Regions from separate parts of the Homo sapiens genome. Here region 1 is linked to region 2. The links are contacts of gene promoters, found by promoter capture Hi-C in blood cells and fetal thymus (Javierre and others, 2016). All regions are on one chromosome and are shown on one strand. The core of a region is centred on a gene start or on the middle of the fragment in contact, and the rest is flanking DNA. Distances in the headings are between cores, read along the strand shown. Region 1 overlaps PITHD1 (PITH domain containing 1). Region 2 holds the start of ID3 (inhibitor of DNA binding 3).

Region 1 (5,325 bases), core at 391-2,890, 230 kb before region 2:
TCATGAATGGAATGACACACTCTGAACCGAAGAGACCTTACAGATCATCTAGTTCTCCAGCCTTGAAGATGGGGAAACTGAGGCTCAAGGAAGGCATGTAAACAGCAACCTCGGGATTCCATTTAAATTCTGCCTCTCTGGATCTGCTTCCTGATATATAAAATGGTAATAACCACCCTGCCTCCTTCACAGCTTTGTTGGTAGGCTTAAATGAGGTTGTGTGAACATGGTTTATACAGTAAAATCACAGCGTGAGGTGTTAATCACGCAAAAAAGGACCTAGGAAAAATACAAAGGCCGTATCAGGAGAGCTGGACAGGCACTGGCAGTGTTAGCGCTGCCCTTCACAAGCAATGTCATGCAGACAGTGCACAAAACGCTGCCATCAAGCTGAAGTGGAAATAGGTATCAGGGACCACAGAAAAGTCAGAAGGCAGGCAAACTGAGTTGAAGGAGCATGTCCCTGAGAATGTGTGGGGATCTGCAAATAGGAAATGAGTCACACTTGACCCTCAGCCGCTTAGGACTCACTCTCCCAGCCTAACCTATACTAGTGTTTTCTTTGAACAGAAAGAAAACAGTACAGCCAGGCGCGGTGGCTCACTCCTGTAATCCCAGCACTTTGGGAGGCTGAGGCGGGCGGATCACGAGGTCAGGAGATCGAGACCATCCTGGCTAACACGGTGAAACCCTGTCTCTACTAAAAATACAAAAAATTAGCCTGGCGCTGTGGCGGGCGCCTGTAGTCCTAGCTACTCGGGGGGAGGCTGAGGCAGGAGAATGGCGTGAACCCGGGAGGCGGAGCTTGCAGTGAGCCAAGATAGTGCCACTACACTCCAGCCTGGGCAACAAAGCGAGACTCTGTCTCAAAAAAAAAAAAAAAAAAAAAAGAAAGAAAAGAAAAAGAAAACAGTACAAAGTTGGAAGCTCAACAAAGCACTTTCCCCCAGGCCCAGAGGCACTTTGGTCCTAAGTACTCAACAGGTCAGGGAGCCTACAATACCAGGATTCGGGGCAGGAAACCTTTGAGCCTATGGGACCACCACAAGCCAAGGACCCAGGACTGAATGTCAAAAGAAAATGGAGGGTAATGTCCCCACTTATGGAAGAATGAACAGTTCCTCCTGCAACCTCGATCACCTGAGACACCATGACACTTAAAACAAATTCTTCAGAGTGAAGCTTCAAATTCAGAGGCTCAGTCCCAGGAGCTGTGATTAATGCTTTAATTAGTGGAATTAGTGAAGGGCTAGTCTGCTCTAAGATTTTTAACTTTATTTTTCCCCCTACTCCAAATTTAAACATAGCCCTTCTTTTAACTCCAAAAAATGATCCAACTGAAATAAAGAGGCTGTGGCTGAGTGAATAGGACCCTTCATGCTTTTCAAGAACAGCATTTGCATTCTGGTTTATTTCAGGCTGCATTTTAGAAATTTTGAGGGCCAACAAGGTTTGGTGGTAGCAGACCTTTCCTAGGACAGGCTGGAGAAACAGTGGCTATATCCTCCAAACAACAGCATGGGCCAATGCCTCAGAGGAATTCTCCCAAAAGGATCAGATTCAACACTAATTCCCTTTATTACCTGTTCCTGTTTTCTGCAAGGGAGAGAATACTGACCATATCAAATCCCCTTTTTAGATACTTACATTCTCTTCAATTGCTAAACTGACTTTCAAAATTTAAGTCCAAAGTCTTTGGTCTACCTGGAGACCACATGAGCTGCTCAATTACTTTCCTCACCCTCATTTCTTCTGATGAGCTCCAAAATCTGTTCTCCCTTATTTTTGTAAATGTCATTCTACAAATCACTTCCTTTTGTGCAAAATGAAATATAGGGTTTTGTTGTTGTTGTTTTGAGACAAGGTCTCACTCTGTTGCCTCAGGCTGGGGTGCAGTGGCGCAATCATGGCTTACTGTAGCCTCGACCTCCTGGGCTCCAGTGATCCTCCCACCTCAGCCTCCCAAGTGGCTGGGACTACAGGTGCACGCCACCATGCCCAGTTAATTTCTGTGAAATACAGGTTTTCAACCCCACCTTCTTCTTTACTATATATGGGTGTAGGAGTGTTTTTGGCCTACTGTACAAAATTAAGCTTGACCATTCCTGGAGAAACTGATCCAGTCTTGATTTTTTTTTTTTTTTTTTTTGAGACGGAGTCTCACTCTGTCACCCAGGCTGGAGTGCAGTGGTGCAATCTCAGGTCACTGCAAGCTCCGCTTCCCGGGTTCATGCCATTCTCCTGCCTCAGCCTCCTGAGTAGCTGGGACTACAGGCTCCCGCCACCGCACCCGGCTAATTTTTTGTATTTTTGGTAGAGACGGTTTCACCGTGGTCTCGATCTCCTGACCTCGTGATCCGCCCACCTCGGCCTCCCAAAGTGCTGGGATTACAGGCGTGAGCCACCGCGCCCGGCTCCAGTCTTGATTTAATTGTGGCACTTCCTATAATCTACCTAGTCCAAAACAACAACAAAAAATTTCAAAGTTCAGTACAGTTCCCCATGAAATGAAAGTTGCATCAGTGGCTATCAAGAACTCAAAAGAAAATACAAACATTAAGTCTGGCAAGGATTTATTAGGAAGCTTATTAGTCACAGTGAATAAAAGCCATGAAAAGAAGAACTCAAATCTCCAAATTCTGGCATCGGACTTACAACACTAGTTAGAAGCTAATAAACATTAAGGAATTTCCAAGGGGAATCTTAACTAAGTCTCAATCTTACTGACCAGATTACCCACACACATAGAAATGATCCCCATGCTCTCCCCAGACTGCTTAGCTAGGCAGTGGAAAAGACCTTCTCCCCAAGCTTAAGCTATCACGCATCAGCAGGAGACTCCTGTCCTTCTAGCTATAACCACAGGACACATGTGCGTGACAGACAACTCCAAGCTGGGCAACTTGACAAGAATGCTGAACAATGAGAGGGGAAAGGAGCAAGCAGGAACAAGTGTTTTAGTTGGAGACCCTCCTGATGGCTACTACTAACACAATCCGGAGGCATCAGAAAGTTTCCTATAGCCCACAAATAGTTTCCTTTAAAAAAACAAAAACAAAAACAAAAAAACAAGTCACACAACAATCTTGCCACAAAGCAACATGACACTTGGAATCACATGGCCACATTAACTGGAAAAGCAAGTGTTACCCATGACTGCCAGATGCCACCCAGCCCAAGACCCAATTTCCACAGCGCCCTAGAGAACCACGATGGTCCCCTGGCACCTACACAACCCTCCCAGTGGTGTCGTATCTTCCGTAGGCCAGGTTTCTGCAGCAAGCCCCAAAGACAAAGCTTGGCAGAGGCTGTGGCAGCCAACTCTCTCTGGAGCCTCATCCCTTTGTCCTTCCCAACAGGTAGTCGTACATCTTCACTGACACAGCGCCTCTATGGGAGCCTTGGCCAGCCCTTAGGAAATAAAGTGTGTCTGTGGGGTAACCTGATGGACCCTATGGTCTGCTGGGTTGGCAGATGCTTCGTAATTGCAGATGGTCACCTCGTGTCGGCGAAGCTGCAAGAAAATTGAGGCTGGGTCAGCCAGCCATTAAAAGAACTGTCCTTTCCCACACCACACACATTGCGGTAGTCCTTATTCAGGTTCATTTCTAGGAGTCATCATTTAATATCTCCTTATTTTAATACTTAGATGTCATCATCTAATATCTCCCAATTTTGATACTTTTTAACTCCAGAAAGCTGCAAAGATCATTATCATTGATTCACCCTGTAACTTTGAAGATTCAGTCTCCCTACTATAATGGGGGTACCATGAGAATAGGAACTTGTCTATGGTATTATCTTATCCCTGGTTCATGAATAGAAAAGATTATCAAAAATACTCAATGAAAGCATTTGAAAGTAGAAAACTGTGAATTAATATAAATGACAATTTCAGGCTGGGCAAGGTGGCTCACACCTGTAATCCCAACATTTTGGGAGGCTGAGATGGGCAGATCACCTGAGGTCAGGAGTTCGAGACCAGCCTGGCCAACATGGTGAAACCCTGTCTCTACTAAAAATACAAAAAAATTAGCCAGGCGTGGGAGTGGGCACCTGTAATCCCAGCTACTTGGGGGGCTGAGGCAGGAGAATCACTTGAACCTGGGAGGCGGAGGTCGCAGTGAGCTGAGATATATATATATATATTATATATATTATTTATATAAAAATAACAGTTTCAACCCCCTTAAAAATACCTGTAGTTTCTCAAATGAGACGAAAAGTTTATACTGATAAAACCAAGAAAAATAATAAACTGGGAGTAATTATGACACTTGCTCTTTTCCCTTCCCTGGAAGCTCCCATCACCACAGTGTGCAGATATGTAGACATGAGGGGAAAACCTTTCCAACCCCATCTTACCTCAGTCCACTCTCCTCTCAGGCCAATATAAAAGACCTTTGTCGTATCTGCTCCGAAGTTTTTTGAAATATGAATTGAGAGATGATAGACATTTGAAAAACGAGAAATTCTAGAGGATGACAGGAATAGGGAAAGAAGGTATGAATTATAGTTCAATGAGTATCTCACCACCATGTGAAACAACAATTCAGCTCCAGCTTGTAAAAGCCAGGCAAAGTCAGAGCTCCTGAGTTCTTCCTTCTCCTTTGGACAGGCAATTAATTCAATGACCATTTACTGAGCACCTGCCAGATCCTGTCCAAGGCAGTAGGGATAAACACTGCTCCTGCCCTCAAGGAACAGGAATGAGAAATGCTGCATAACCCAGCAGGGATTCTAAAGCACATTTAGTGTTAACCTAAACTAATGGGAGACACATCTTTCCTAAAACCACCCTAGGAGTTCATTCAGATCTGCCAATTGCTTGCAAGTTAACAAGTCTGTGGCTTGCACTGAATCTCTGCCAAAAACTGACCAAGCCAAAGATCAAGTCTCCTCCACTGTTTTAACTCATTTCCAATGCTAAGAGAGCAGGAGACTGGCCAAAAATAAATGGCAAGCCCTATAAGAAGCCATAGAGAATGGAAGACAGGCCCAGTGCTTACTTTGTAGCATACTCTAATTCTCCTGTAAGATCCCGGTTCAGACTAAAGGTCTGATCTGGCTCCCTTTCTGTATCATCAAAGGACATCTGTGGAATATTCTTGTACCTGAGAAAGGAAAGGAAAGAAAAGTCAAGAAATGTGCATTATCACGTTTCAGGTTTTCAAAATTTTCTACTGACTGCTTAAATGGCTTTGGTTCTATCAATAGGAGACTGAATTTGGGGGTCATATTTTAGAAATGACATTTTATACAAGTATCTCCAAATATCTTTTTTTTTTTTTTTTTTGAGACAGAGTCTCACTGTGTCACCCAGGC
Region 2 (5,703 bases), core at 3,204-5,703:
GACCACTCAACTCACTTGGTACCACCTATCCCACTCAACAGGGGCTACATCACATTACAGCACATAAAAATAACTGTTTCCCACACCATTTTCCATCCCTTGTCCCCTTTGACTCTCCCAGCTGTGAGGTAGATGGATGGTATTTTCCTCCCAATTTAATAGAAGAGACAGCTGAGACAGAGTGAAGGTAGGAGAAGTCAGGGCAAGGATTGAGCCTGGTCTTGATTCTGAATCCCCTGTGCTTTCCTTGTATCACCTGAATCTCAAGCAATACTTTGGGCTCCAGACTCTCTGAGGGGAGGAGAAGGAGAAGGGATGTTCTATGTGTGTGACTGCAAAGTCCTCACCACACCTTCTAGGCACTTATGAGCAAGGAGATACATATTATGAAATGTGGCATTTGGGAATGTTCTAAGACCACCCTAATGCTATTAAGAGTGCCGGGCGCGGTGGCTCACACCTGTAATCCCAGCACTTTGGGAGACCAAGTCGGGCGGATCATGAGGTCAGGAGTTCGAGACCAGCCTGACCAATATGGTGAAACCCTGTCTCTACTAAAAATACAAAAATTAGCCGGGTGTGGTGGCGTGCGCCTGTAGTCCCAGCTACTCAGGAGACTGAGACAGAAGAATCGTTTGAACCCAGGAGGTGGAGGTTGCGGTGAGCCGAGATCACAACACTGCACTCCACCCTGGGCGACGGAGTGAGACTCCATCCCAAAAAAAAAAAAGAGAGAGAGGGCAGAGTGGACAGAGAGTCAAATGAGAGGAGGTCTGGGTTCTGGCCATAGGCCAGCTACTGACATCCCAAGTAAACGTGAGCAAGTTTCTGAGGTCCCCATGATCCCCATGTCTGGGACATAAATGGGAAAAAGATGATAGATAGATAATAAATAGAGGCTCAGCTTAGACAAAAAGGCATCTGCAATCCTTGTCATCATTACTTTGACTTTGAAATCAACAATTTAGAGAGCCCACTACCACGAAATTAAAAAATTCTAAAATTTTTTAAAAAACAAAACAGTATAACTTAAAGAGTTCTGCCAACTTCTCAAAAAAAAAAAAATCAGAGAGCACAACATTGAATTTTTTTTTCTTTTTTTTATTTTGGCAGAGGAAGATTGAGTTCCTGGAAATGCTTACAAAATGATTCCTGACACTGGGAGGAGATAGTTAGAAAAAAGAAGAAGAAAAATTATACACATATATAGATAAAGGAAGAAGGTGGAAAGAAAGGGAATAGACAAAAGAAAATAAAGAACTAAAAGAGAAAGAAAAAAAAAGACTTTAAAGGGCCCCAATTGAAGCAACATTATCAAGTTCTCAGCATCTGCAATTCACAAGCCGCTCGCGGTTGGGGCGATGCAGACCCCGCCCCTTTCTCGGGTGTCCGGCGCTCATTGGTGGGGGAGGCAGTCGCCGGCCGGTGACTGCCCGAGGAAAGGTTGCCTGGGACACGCATCCCTGTGTGAACGCATGACGTCCCACCCTGGCGCCAGGCTGTCTGGGGCTGAGTCTTAGATCAACACAGCTGTGGGACCGGGACCCACAGCTGGGCAAAGGAGCGGATTCCTCAACAAAAAATAGGATTGTGAGAAAAGTTCTGAAACAAAAACAGCGCAGACAAAAGCCTTAATGACATCCTTTCATAAAAATAAAAAATGCAAGAGGGGGGAAAAAGCTGGTAAAAGGAGCAGAACTGGGAACAGAAAGTTCAGAGGCATTTGGAATAAGAGGCTGAGGCCCCACCACTGCTAAACAAGTTGCAGAAGGCCTGAGCTAGCCTGTCCAGTCTGCTGTGGGGAAAAAGAAGTCTCTTGGGTTTAAACACTATTCAGTGTTCCTAACCATAACCTGCTTCTTTCAGAATTAGAATCTTAGGCTAGAGAGGACCATTAAAGGGCACTTGCTTCCTCCCAACCTACCCACTATCTTTTTTTTTTTTTTTTTTTTAAAGAGAAAATGAAGCCCAGGAAGGGAGGAAATTCGTCCAAGGGCACACTGCAAATTATTGGCATGCACAGAACAGAATTTTGCTTGCTAATTCCACAGCATCCTTCTGCCTTATGTCACACAGCCCATGGGCATTTCAGCCTGGAAGCATCCTGGGAAATAATAAATGCGAAGGTGCTTTGCAAACCTAAATCACTATACAAGCCTGAGGCATCAGCTGCAGTAGTAGAGGAAGGAAAAGAAGGGAGGAGAATCTGGGTAGACTGAGCACCTTCCACACAACTGGCCCATGCTGGGTCCCCCAGGCAGTAAGAAGACTAAGATCAGATGGAGTGAACACATCAAGTGCTTTGCAGAGAAGAGGCATTCAATAATTATCGAATGAATGAATGAGTAGACCCAATTAGTTCCATTTTATAGATGGGAAAATAGAAGCACCCAGGATAACTCAGCCAAAGTCTACACAATTAGTTTAAACAAAAAAAGAAGAAGAAGAAGAAGAATGGGCATTTGCACAGAAATCTGCCTGGCCCGTGATTTTTCTAGAACCCTCTGGACTTGACCGTTTTGCCACAGAAGTCTGCAAGATAGGAAAAGAAGGATCTTCTCTTCGGTTATTCAGGAGTTCCTACAGCCATTATTTTGCCTTTCCTGACCAAATAGCTGGCACTTGACGGCTGTAGCATGTAAAGACTGACTTGCCCACTCACAGGTTTTCTTCCTCTTTTCTTACTGAAGAGCCTGTCCTTGAAAAAAACATTCCAGGAAGAAATCTTTCTTGGGCCACAGAGCCCTGTGGTTTGATGGAAAAGAACGAGGCTTCAAGACTGGCTCTGCTATTACTTGTAGTGTGACATTGGGCATGTCTTAAATGCCTTCCTTGGGCCCCTCAGCATCTTTCACCTACATATCCAAATTTCACACAACCTTGGACTTCTACAATTGGAAAGGATTTTAAATAATCACTTAGTACCATCGTCTATTTTACTCACAAGGCAATTAAAGCCAGAGTACCTGGGCTTGTTCAAGATTACATGACAAATTATTGTCAGGGCTAGCATGATGAACCCAGGGCTCTCAATTCCCAGTCAGTGTCCTTTTCAACCGTTTTGCGACTCTCTTTGGCTCTGAGCCCCCCTTGTCCTGTTAATCAGTGCCACACATTATCGAACTCTTGTTTCCTGTGTTAATCTTGTCTCCCCAAATTGTGAGATTCTTGAAAGCAGGAGCCACTGTTTTATGCGGAGGGACTCCATAAATATTCACCAATGATTCATTAGGAAAGCAACTATTGGGGGAATCCCACTTGGTCATTTCCAAAATGGAAAGCAGCATCTTGGAAGTGCAGGTCCCCAAATGTCTAGGGAGGTGACAAGAAGGCAAGCAAAGAATCAAAGAATACTGAGCACAGTGTCCTGTTGCAATACAGGACTTAGTTTGCCGGCCCTCTGGTTCCTTTCCTGGTCTTTCAGATGGAGCTGGAGCTACTTCAGCAGGGCTAAGAATAATCAAGTCCAGGTGGCCTGCCCTTCCATAGCAGAAAGGGACAGACAATAGAGCAATGAAATTACCACTGTTTTCTACACAGAGGTGTGTGGAAAGTGAAGAGAGGGGAAGTTAAGAAATTTGCTGACCCAATTGGGTGGGGGGGGGCTCTTAAAAAGGTTTATGTAGAAATTGTCCCATCTGTGCCTCCATATTTAAAACCTTGTCCAAAATTCTAATTGAACTCACAAAGCACAACTGTGCATATATTTAGTTCGTTATGGAGTTTATGGGGCAGAGGGTCCAGGCTCCTTTTTTCCCCATGCAAAAAGCATGGGCTCAAGCTTTCTTCTTTTCCCCTGTTGCTCAAATAAATAGTGTTCTTTGCTCAAACCCCCTTTCCCTCCTCCTTCTGCAATCTCAGCGCCTAGCGCAAATCTGTTTTCTTCATTGTAACCTCAGCTTCACCGCAATTAATTTTTTTTCCCTCTGGTCACAAGATAATTCCTGACGCCAGTGAGTCTGGAGGTCAGACGAACAGCAAATTGGGGAACAAGGCGGCACTAATTCCTTACAAGTTTCCCTTGAAAAATCTTTCGCTTAAAAAAAACGGGGGGTGGGGGGAGCTTCTTTGCTGTTCAGGGATTTATGACCTCGGAGGAGCTGTGGCTCGAACCAGTGTTGGGCTAAAGGCGGACTGGCAGGGGGCAGGGAAGCTCAAAGATCTGGGGTGCTGCCAGGAAAAAGCAAATTCTGGAAGTTAATGGTTTTGAGTGATTTTTAAATCCTTGCTGGCGGAGAGGCCCGCCTCTCCCCGGTATCAGCGCTTCCTCATTCTTTGAATCCGCGGCTCCGCGGTCTTCGGCGTCAGACCAGCCGGAGGAAGCCTGTTTGCAATTTAAGCGGGCTGTGAACGCCCAGGGCCGGCGGGGGCAGGGCCGAGGCGGGCCATTTTGAATAAAGAGGCGTGCCTTCCAGGCAGGCTCTATAAGTGACCGCCGCGGCGAGCGTGCGCGCGTTGCAGGTCACTGTAGCGGGACTTCTTTTGGTTTTCTTTCTCTTTGGGGCACCTCTGGACTCACTCCCCAGCATGAAGGCGCTGAGCCCGGTGCGCGGCTGCTACGAGGCGGTGTGCTGCCTGTCGGAACGCAGTCTGGCCATCGCCCGGGGCCGAGGGAAGGGCCCGGCAGCTGAGGAGCCGCTGAGCTTGCTGGACGACATGAACCACTGCTACTCCCGCCTGCGGGAACTGGTACCCGGAGTCCCGAGAGGCACTCAGCTTAGCCAGGTGGAAATCCTACAGCGCGTCATCGACTACATTCTCGACCTGCAGGTAGTCCTGGCCGAGCCAGCCCCTGGACCCCCTGATGGCCCCCACCTTCCCATCCAGGTAAGCCTCGAAGTCGGGACAGGGCTGAACACCCAGGCAAGGATGCTGCGGGACCCTCGGAGCTCCCGATTGCCTCGCGTAACTCTTCCCTCTTTTCCTCTAATCAGACAGCCGAGCTCACTCCGGAACTTGTCATCTCCAACGACAAAAGGAGCTTTTGCCACTGACTCGGCCGTGTCCTGACACCTCCAGGTGAGTATCTCCTCTCTTGGAGAGGGAGGTTTAAACGGCAAGTCCTGGAGTTGGCAGACGTTTTGAAAAATTGCCACTCACTCGGTTTAGGGAAACTGAGGCCAGAGAGGGACAAGTGACTTGCCCATGGTTGCATCAAATGAATGGCAGAGTCAGTTTCCATGTGATGTGCATTTAAGCCTTAAATGCGCCTGGGCCCTGCCCTCCCGCAGTGGCCGAGGGTCTGGCAAAGTAGACATGGGTCCGACTAAATACAAGTCTTTCTGTTCCATGTTGTATAGGGAGCTGTCTTCGGCAGCCCCCTCCCAGCTAGTGTCAATTCCAAGTAGGAGGGGTAGCGCAAGCTCCGCCTGTGGTCTTTGGCGCCAACTGGGTGGGGGCAGCGTGGGGCGCGGAGTTATCAGCTGGAGGTACAGACCAAGTTTCCTCCCTGGCGCCGGCCAGTCTGCGGACGGCCCCCGCCTCGGCACGCTCGGCGGAAACTGACTGCTCCTTGGTCTTCTTTCCTCCCCCGCCCAGAACGCAGGTGCTGGCGCCCGTTCTGCCTGGGACCCCGGGAACCTCTCCTGCCGGAAGCCGGACGGCAGGGATGGGCCCCAACTTCGCCCTGCCCACTTGACTTCACCAAATCCCTTCCTGGAGACTAAACCTGGTGCTCAGGAGCGAAGGACTGTGAACTTGTGG

What was found. Contacts are between HindIII fragments. The CHiCAGO score rates a contact against its expected background, and 5 or more counts as called.
Region 1: a fragment that was not itself captured here is called in contact with the fragment with the promoter of ID3 in region 2 in 1 of 17 cell types (naive B cells); the score reaches 6.0 in naive B cells.

What each region holds. Positions count from the first base shown.
Region 1 is chr1:23,785,464-23,790,788 of GRCh38, reverse strand. It overlaps PITHD1 (PITH domain containing 1), which reads right to left. Exons shown (of 6, transcript NM_020362.5): 4 at 5,010-5,114; 5 at 4,366-4,474; 6 at 2,557-3,514. The coding sequence ends at 3,413. It overlaps LOC105376860 (a long non-coding RNA gene), which reads left to right. Exons shown (of 2, transcript XR_947067.3): 2 at 1-175. Among named protein-coding and RNA genes, the nearest start is that of LYPLA2, 3.0 kb to the left of the region's middle. The HindIII fragment of the contact is 912 bases long and covers 1,185-2,096 here.
Region 2 is chr1:23,558,251-23,563,953 of GRCh38, reverse strand. It overlaps ID3 (inhibitor of DNA binding 3), which reads left to right and starts at 4,453. Exons shown (of 3, transcript NM_002167.5): 1 at 4,453-4,827; 2 at 4,935-5,019; 3 at 5,539-5,703. The coding sequence starts at 4,528. The coding sequence ends at 4,994. The region is part of intron 2 of LOC124903876 (a long non-coding RNA gene); the gene reads right to left. RefSeq lists silencers at 4,140-4,386, 4,254-4,513 and an enhancer at 5,454-5,583. The HindIII fragment of the contact is 2,494 bases long and covers 3,784-5,703 here.